Linked DNA regions of Homo sapiens: region 2 is linked to region 1. Evidence: promoter capture Hi-C in 16 types of primary human blood cells and fetal thymus (Javierre and others, 2016). All regions are on one chromosome and are shown on one strand. The core of a region is centred on a gene start or on the middle of the fragment in contact, and the rest is flanking DNA. Distances in the headings are between cores, read along the strand shown. Region 1 holds the start of FOSB (FosB proto-oncogene, AP-1 transcription factor subunit). Region 2 holds the start of MEIOSIN (meiosis initiator).

Region 1 (4,158 bases), core at 1,589-4,088:
CACTCATGCCTGGTGTGGAGTAGCTGGTTCCCGGCATGTCGTAGGGGTCGACGACCGGGGGCTGGGAGGCCAGTGGCTGCCCCTGGGACTGGGCCATGGAAGAGATGAGGGTGGGTTGCACAAGCCACTGGAGGTCCTGGCTGGTTGTGATCGCGGTGACCGTGGGCACGAAGGAACCGGGCATTTCCCCGAGACCGGCGCACTCCTACGGGGTGACACATACACACACAGGCGTAGACACACAAACAAAGACACCGACACACACACACCCAACACACATAACACACACCGACCCCGTGAGTGAGCACAGGGTGAGCGAGTGTGGATGTGTGTGTCACAGGGAAAAAGCCACAACACCCACCCTTCCACTACACCGTGACGCAGTGGTTAATGAGAGGATTTCTGCTCAACTGGCTTCTACCTCCTCCTTCTTCCTCGGGGAAAGGTTGCACGGTTCCAGCGGGTGGTGAATCACACCCCGGGTTGGTGACTCTTAGGTATGGGGGGTGGAGAGGAGGCTGGACACAGCCGGGTGACAGAACCCCCGGGACGGAGCCACAGCCACACACACAGCCACAACACCCCACCCCCACCCCAGAGGCAAGGGGAGGGAGAAGGAGAGGCCTTAGGCCAAGCCTTCCTCTACACTCACACACATACACACCCCCCTCTGCGCGAGGTCCCATGCAGGGGCGGGGGTCCCAGTCAAAAGGGTGTTTGGGGGACGGGCCTAGGAGTTTAGAACAACGTTTCAAGTTACTGTCTCTTCTCAGAGTGAGACTGACGAGTGACAGTTTAGGGTGAACGGACAGGTAGATAAAAGTAACCACTGGAGCTCTCTCAGATTGTCGCGGAGGGGGAATGGTGCGGGACCTGAGCCCCCAAGCCTCAGCAGCGCTCATCTCCCCCCTCCCGTAAATGGACTCCTGGAACTGCTCTGAAGGCTTAACTACTCTCTCGGGGGGCGTGGTGAGGGAAGGGCTGGCTCGCCGACCAATCAGAGTCCTGGGAACCCAGAGGGGGCGGAGCTCCTGGAGACCACCTGGCTGGTTGCCCTTCGGTTCGCGGTTCTAGTCCTGTCTTGGGACACACCGGAGGAACCGGGCATGAGGAGCAGAGGGAGTGGGAATGTGTCTGTGTGTGCCTGGAGAAGAGGGTGACAGCCACCGTATCTCTCCAAGAAACGCCAGCACACAAGCAGACACCCCCTTCTCCTGAGAGCCCAGGGACTAGATCCCCGCAAGGGCCTCGCAGATCCATTGGGTCGCAGACAGGCGCTCTTGTCACGACAGGGATCCCCTCCCTCTGCCTCTAGAGGCGCCGAAAAGAGACCCAGCCGCCAAGGAACCACGGGTTCCGGGGACAGAGAGGGGGGAAGGAAAATGCACCCTACAAATAGGAAGGGAAAGCTGATTGGCCAAGGCGTGCGCCCCGGCGGCCAATCGAAACGCCGGGCTGCCCCCTCCCTTAGCAACGTGGCCCCGGCGTTCCAAAATAGAACGCTCCCGGGACGTCAGGGGCGGGGCGGACGAAGGGGGCGCCGCGCGCCGTGCGTGCCCCGCGTCAGACGGAGGATTCCAGCGCGTCAGCCGTTACGCACGGGTCCCCCGTTACGTCTCCGCGCAGGAGGCGGAGGCAGCGCGGCTGAGGGTTCGAGGCCCCTCTTCCCGATGGGTGGAGGGCGACCCGGCACCGAAGTGGGCGCTCCGAAGGAGGAGGAAAGGAAAAGAGACTGCTGGAAGCTTCCCCGGGATTTCCCCCACCTGCCTAACTGCGCTAGCTTCAGGTCTGGGACCCGAGCAGGGGGCAGTCCCGGGGCCGGCTCAAAGTTCTCAGCCCCGCTACCGCATACACGTTGCATTGAGCAGCGCATTACCCACCCCACCCCCACCTCGCCCCAAAGCCTACCCTCCCTGCCGCGTTCCCTCCTTGCGCTCCACGCACGCAACCAATTGCAAACATCTCCCGACTCTTTGCAGTTTGCAAAGTGCGCTGTGAGCCTTTTCCATCTCAGATCTAGGGTTCTGATGCGCCTTTTTGTGGGGGTTGGGGTTTATTCTTTTCACCCTTGACTTAAAAAATAAAACCTACAAAGCAGCACCCCTACTATCAAAAACTTACCTGGGAGGCGGCGGCGGTGGGTGGACTGCCGAAGGAGTCCACCGAAGACAGATATTGAGACTCGGCAGAGGGTGAGGAGCTGCACCGGGAGCCGGAGTCGTAGTCTCCGGGGAAAGCCTGAAACATTTCCCTGGGCACAGGGGGGCCCCTGTGACCACGCTGAGGTCGCCGGGAAGCCAAGGCTATGGCCGGGTTGGGGAAGTAAGGTGCAAGTCCGGGGTGAGCCGTGGGAGTCCCCGGTGAGCTGAGCGAGTCCTCAAAGTACGCTGTCCGGGGAAGCTCGGGGAAGGAGCAACGTCCCGTTCCAACAATGGCAAAGTTTCTGTGCAGTCTTCCTGCGGTGCCCAGGCCCCCACAGGATGCCGCTGTACCTCTTGAAAGTGCAGGCTCCGTAGGACCCAGGGGCGAGGGAGGGGTTGCTCCCCCAGGGGCAGAAAGCGCTGTCCCGCTGTACAGAATCAGCTTCAGCTACGGTCTCCTCCACGCGTCCGGCGGGTCCCACGGGGGGAGGGGAGTAATAAAGAAGACCAAAAAAAGTAAGTCGGTCCTCCAAAAGAAAATGAAGAAATATCTGGAAGAATCTTTCCAAAAACTTTCTCCCCGGAAAAAAAAAGATTAATGAAATTTCATAACCCCCAAGAAGAACCACAACAATCAAGTTTCCAAGTCTTGGTTCCGCGTGTCCCTGCCGTGGCCGTAGCTCTGAGTCTTATGAATGAAGCACAGACCCGCCAGCCTGTATTTATATGCCCGGGACCCGCCCCCCTGCTTACGTCACCCGCCCCTTGCTGGACAAACTTCCCCAAATCTCCGGCCCCGCCAAATCGAGTCCCGCACTGTCCAGCAAGAGGTCTGTTCTAGACTCGATCTGGTCACTTGCATGACCCTCGGGGCCCTGGGGGTCTCGGGGGTTGCGTTCCGGGCCACTCGGCGGGAGGGGATCCCGGCCCCGCCTTCCCGGAGTTCCTGTGACGCAATTAGCCATATAAGGAGCTCGGCCGGCGCGGCGGAGTGTTTGTTTGGTATCCTAGCAATGACGTCAGAGGGAATCCCTCGCTCGCTCGCGCGCGCGCCCGCGCCCCGCCCGCGCCTGCGCAGTGCAACGCCGCCCCGGGGGCTGGTAATAATAGGCGCTTAGACTAGCCCCGCAGGGACCCCGCTGACCCGGGCGGGGAAGACCCCAGCCTGCAGGTCCCCTTCACCTCTGGCGCCCCCACCTACCCTGTTCTACCGATGGTGCAGCGCCCCCATTCGAGAAGAAGAGCAGATCTCCAAAAGGAGACCCTGATTAGTGTGGTGTGGTCACGTAGGTGGGGAAACTGAGTCCCGAGCGGGCTGTGATGCTCAGGTGAAAGTGGAGGTAATGGAGGGATTCCGAGGCTCGTCCTGGTTTCTGTCCTGATTCGCTGTGCGAGCTTAGGAAATGTTTTCCCTCTCTGAGCTTTAGCTTTAATCTTCCCCGCTGGGCAAAGGATGTGTGTCTTGGACCCTGCTGGCCTTACAGGTCCGGCGTTTGGGAGGGATGCGGATTTGGAGGAGATGGGAAATGAAACTTAGAGAGAAGCCTCTCTTCTGATGGTGTTGGTAGCCTCTCCTTCCACCTTTTAATCCACCCGGAGACAAAGAATGTGTAAGAGGGAGGGGATATTATTATTAATTCTAATAATAATAATTAATGCCTTGTATTTGGCACTTGCCAAGCACAGCTCCTGTGCTACGCCTTTCAGTAGAAGATTTGTAATCCTTAAAACAGCTCTGGAAGGTTAAGAGAGAAAAATCTTCATTTTATAAAAGAAAAAAATGATACTCAGGGAGGTTAAATGACTTGCCCAAGATCCCATCACAAGAAATTCAAACTCAGAATTGTCAAACTCCAGATTTCCTACCCTTTCCATTTCTTTTCTGATTTCTGAGACCTGCCTGGTTGGATGAAACTCCCTGAAAAACCTGTGTCTGGGGTTTTTTTAAATGATAATGGCAATATTAGTAGCTTTCACTTGTCAGGTCTTTTTTTTTTTTTTTTTTTTTTTTTTTTTG
Region 2 (3,929 bases), core at 1,127-3,626, 270 kb before region 1:
GTCCCAGCTACTGGGGAGGCTGAGGCAGGAGAATCACTTGAGTTCAGGAGGCGGAGGTTGCAGTGAGCTGGGATCGCAACACTGCACTCCAGCCTGGGCAACAGGAGTGAAACCCTGTCTCAAAAATAAATAAATAAATAAATAAGCAATGATCTTTGCCGATCACCTCAGAGTACTCTCATCTGGAAAATGGTAGGCATCTTTGTACACAACTTCCTCATGAGATTGTTGTATGGATTAACAGTTATCATACAAACAAAATGTTTGGCAAAGAGTCTAGCAAACGGTAAATGCTCAGCAAATGTTTTTGTTATTATTATTCAATGAGAGTGGCTGGGGCTATAAGGGAGATGGGGCAAGCCCTTACCTGTCACTGGGACCCAGTGAATTAGCTCTGGGCTGTTCAGAGGAACCCAAGTATCTGCTGGAACCAAACATCTGCAAAGAGGGAAAAAGAATGATTAGTGACCTCTGGGATTGCAGGAAGGATGGGCAGGAACCCTGATGGGCACCCTTCATCTTCCCTATGATGCTCCTTTGAGCACCCAGAGATCCCAAAATAAGAGTCCCTAGCCCCAACAAATTATGGGCCCAAAGACCCAAATTAAACAGCTAAACCTTGGCCAGAAGTGGTAGCTCACACCTGTAATCCCAGCATTCTGGGAGGCCGAGGCAGGCAAATCACTCGAGGTCAGGAGTTTGAGACCAGCCTGGCCAACATGGTGAAACCCCATCTCTACTAAAAATACAAAAATTAGCCGGGCGTGGTGGTGCACGACTGTAATCCCAGCTACTTGGGAGGCTGAGGCAGGAGAATCACTTGAACCTGGGAGGCGGAGGTTGCACTGAGCCAGGATTAAGCCACTGCACTCCAGCCTGGACAACAGAGTGAGACTGTGTCTCAAAAAACAAAAACAAAAACAAACCCCTAAACCTCTAAAAAGGCACTAAAACTAATACTTTAGAGTCCCAAAATGAGGACCTAAATCCTCACTTTGGAGCCCTCCCAAAGCCAGGTACAGTGGCTCACGCCTGTAATCCTAGCACTTTGGGAGGCCAAGGCAGGAGGATTGCTTGATCTCAGGAGTTTGAGACCAGCCTGGCAATATGACAAAACTCCACCTCTACAAAAAAAAAAAAAAAATTACCTGGGCATAGTGGCACATGCTTGTAGTCCCAGCTACTTGGGAGCCTGAGGTGGGGGGATGGTTTGAGCCCAGGAGGTCAAGGCTGCAGTGAGCTAAAATCGCACTACTGCACTCCAGCCTGGATGACAAAGTGAGACCTTGTCTCAAAAACAAAAAAAAAGGAGCCCTCCCAAACCTACAAACCCTAAATTCTAATACTGAGATACCCCAGACCCTCAAACTGTCAACTTCTGATCTTCAAATATGATCCTAATACTAAGATTACAGACTGCAAGCTGTAACACTATGAACCTATATCCTAAGATAAGAAATCCAGGCCCCTATGAAACAAATCTCACTTCTCCAGATTGACCTCTTAGACGTCCAAACTGTCCCTCAAATTGTGGCCCCAACCCTAAAACTGAGATCTCGAATGTGGGTCCTACTCTGAAACCCCAGACCCTAAAACTGGAGCTCCCATACTCAATGTGGGCACTCCAGGCCCTAAAACGTGCTTCTAAAGACTCAAACTGCGACTCCAGATCCTAAAGCTTCATACTCTACATTGGGATTTAGGCCCTAAATCTATACTGAGGCTTCAGTTGCCCCAAATCAGGCTCCAGACTCTCAAAATGTTACATCATAACTCAGAACTAAGACTTCCAGATCCCCAAATTGGGATCTCTGGATTCCAAGGAGAAAGCTTCCAGTCACAAAACTCAAGCTCTTCAGATTCCAGAACTAGTCACCCCTAGACACAAATCCCGAGATCCCAGATCAGAACTCGAGAGCCCGGATTCCCAACACAAACAGAGTCTTCCGTTCCTCAAACTCGAACCTGGACCCCCGGCTTCAAACCCAAACTCCGTCGCCCGTGGCCCTGCACCCAGAGCATGTTCTATTCCCCTGAGCCCCCCACCGAGGGAAGCTCCTGTGGGGATCCCGGGTTCCCCTAAGCCCAGCTAGTGCTGGGGGAGGCCCCCTGCCCCGCGCCCCATTCCCCTTGGCCTCCAGCACCCGCCTCAGGGCGTGCAAAATGGCGTGAGGCTGCCCCCGCCGTTCTGGTTTCTCCGGGCCCCACTCTAGGGAGCCCGATCAGACAGCGTCTCGCGCGGGTCCCGGGAAGCCGGCCGTGCGCGCGGGGATCCCAGACGGTCTCGGACACCACGTTCCCAACCGGGCTTGGGGTTGGGTGCGAATCCTCCCGGCGCGAGGATCCTGCGCGAGGCGTGAGGAGCAGAGCAAGAGTGCGTTCCTGAGGCCAGGCCACGCCCCTACCAGTTCCAGCCAAGATGTGCTGGGCACGAGACGACGGGGTTGAAAGGGCAGGGTGCAAGTGGCCGTGCGCACGCGCGCCTCGGGAAGGGCCCTGTCGTCTTGCACAGCGTGAGCTCGGCCTCGAGCCTTCTGACAAGGCCTTGGTCGGCGTGAGCCGCTAGGTGACCAATCAGCGCCCGCTCAGCCACCCGCCTTTTTAAGCGGTCACGCCCCTGCACGACCCGCGTGGTCCAGGGCCGTTGCATCCCAAGTAGGCTGGGTTTCCTCAACTGCCAACTCTCAGGAAGAGAGAGAGAGCGAGCTCGCCTGTGTCCCTTCTGGCCCTATGATGTCCCATTTCCACCTTTTCCCTTCAGTTCGTGATTCATGAGGGCCTCCTGTGTGCCAAGCACCAGGCTAGATGGTGGGAACTTAGCCACTGTCTTCCCAGTACAATCGAGAAGACCGTGAGAACCTCCGAGACCATGAGAATCCGGTGAGACGGGAACTCGGTTAATGCAGAGAACAATACGTTGGGAAAGGATTCAAAGAGGAGGGCCATTTGAATTGGGCCTTCTTGGGAGGACGAGGCGGGCGGATCACTTGAGGTCAGGAGTTCCAGACCAGCCTGGCCAACAATGGTGAAACCCCGTCTCGGCTAAAAATACAAAAATTAGCCGGGCATGGTGGGGCGCGCCTGTAGTCCCAACTACTCCAGAGGCTGAGGCAGGAGAATCATTTGAACCTGGGAGGTGGAGGTTGAATGAGCTGGTATCGCCACTGCACTCCAGCCTGGGCGACAGAGCAAGACTCTGTCTCAAAAAAAAAAAAAAAAAAAAAAAGGAAAAAAAAGAAAGAAAAAGAATAAAAGATTTGGGCTTTTTTTTTTTTTTTTTTTGGTAGAGACGAGGGTCTCACTTTGCTGCCTAGTTTGGTCTTAAACTCCTGGACTAAAGCCAGTCTCCCGGCTGAGATTATAAGCATGAGCCACCGCACCCAGCCTGGAAAATACGTCTTAAGGGGAGATGATCTAACGACCTAGTCAAGAGTAGAAACCCTGAAATCCAATACATTTCAGTTCAAATCGTTTTCTTGGCTGTGTTGCCAGCGACAAGAGGCTTAATCTCTTTCTGCCTTATAAATTTGGGATTGTAATTCCTACCAGGGTTGTCTGTAGGGTGTCTGGCATATAGTTCCGATGCAATAAATATTTACTGAACACATGTTTACGCTGTTCTAGGTGCTTGAACAAGGTACACAAAGATCTCTGCCCTCCTGGAGCTTCTTCTTCTTCTTCTTCTTTTTTTTTTTTTTGAGACGGAATCTCGCTCTGTCCCCCAGGCTGGAGTGCAGTGGCGCGATCTCGGCTCACTGCAAGCTCCGCCTCCTGGGTTCACGCCATTCTCTTGCCTTAGCCTCCCGAGTAGCTGGGACTACAGGCACCCGCCACCCAGCCCGGCTAATTTTTTGTATTTTTAGTAGAGATGGGGTTTCAGTGTGTTAGCCAGGATGGTCTTGATCTCCTGACCTTGTGATCAGCCCGCC

The links. The method cuts DNA at HindIII sites, captures the fragments that hold promoters and counts their contacts. A CHiCAGO score of 5 or more calls a contact.
Region 2: the fragment with the promoter of MEIOSIN here is called in contact with the fragment with the promoter of FOSB in region 1 in 1 of 17 cell types (non-activated CD4 T cells); the score reaches 6.6 in non-activated CD4 T cells.

The regions. Positions count from the first base shown.
Region 1 is chr19:45,466,676-45,470,833 of GRCh38, reverse strand. FOSB (FosB proto-oncogene, AP-1 transcription factor subunit) reads right to left here and starts at 2,838. Exons shown (of 4, transcript NM_006732.3): 1 at 2,122-2,838; 2 at 1-205. The coding sequence starts at 2,247. RefSeq lists enhancers at 741-790, 1,836-2,737 and a silencer at 2,922-3,201. The HindIII fragment of the contact is 2,687 bases long and covers 1,745-4,158 here.
Region 2 is chr19:45,731,886-45,735,814 of GRCh38, reverse strand. It overlaps MEIOSIN (meiosis initiator), which reads right to left and starts at 2,376. Exons shown (of 15, transcript NM_001310124.2): 1 at 2,149-2,376; 2 at 368-438. The coding sequence starts at 438. It also overlaps a transcript of FBXO46 not described here. The HindIII fragment of the contact is 2,985 bases long and covers 1,833-3,929 here.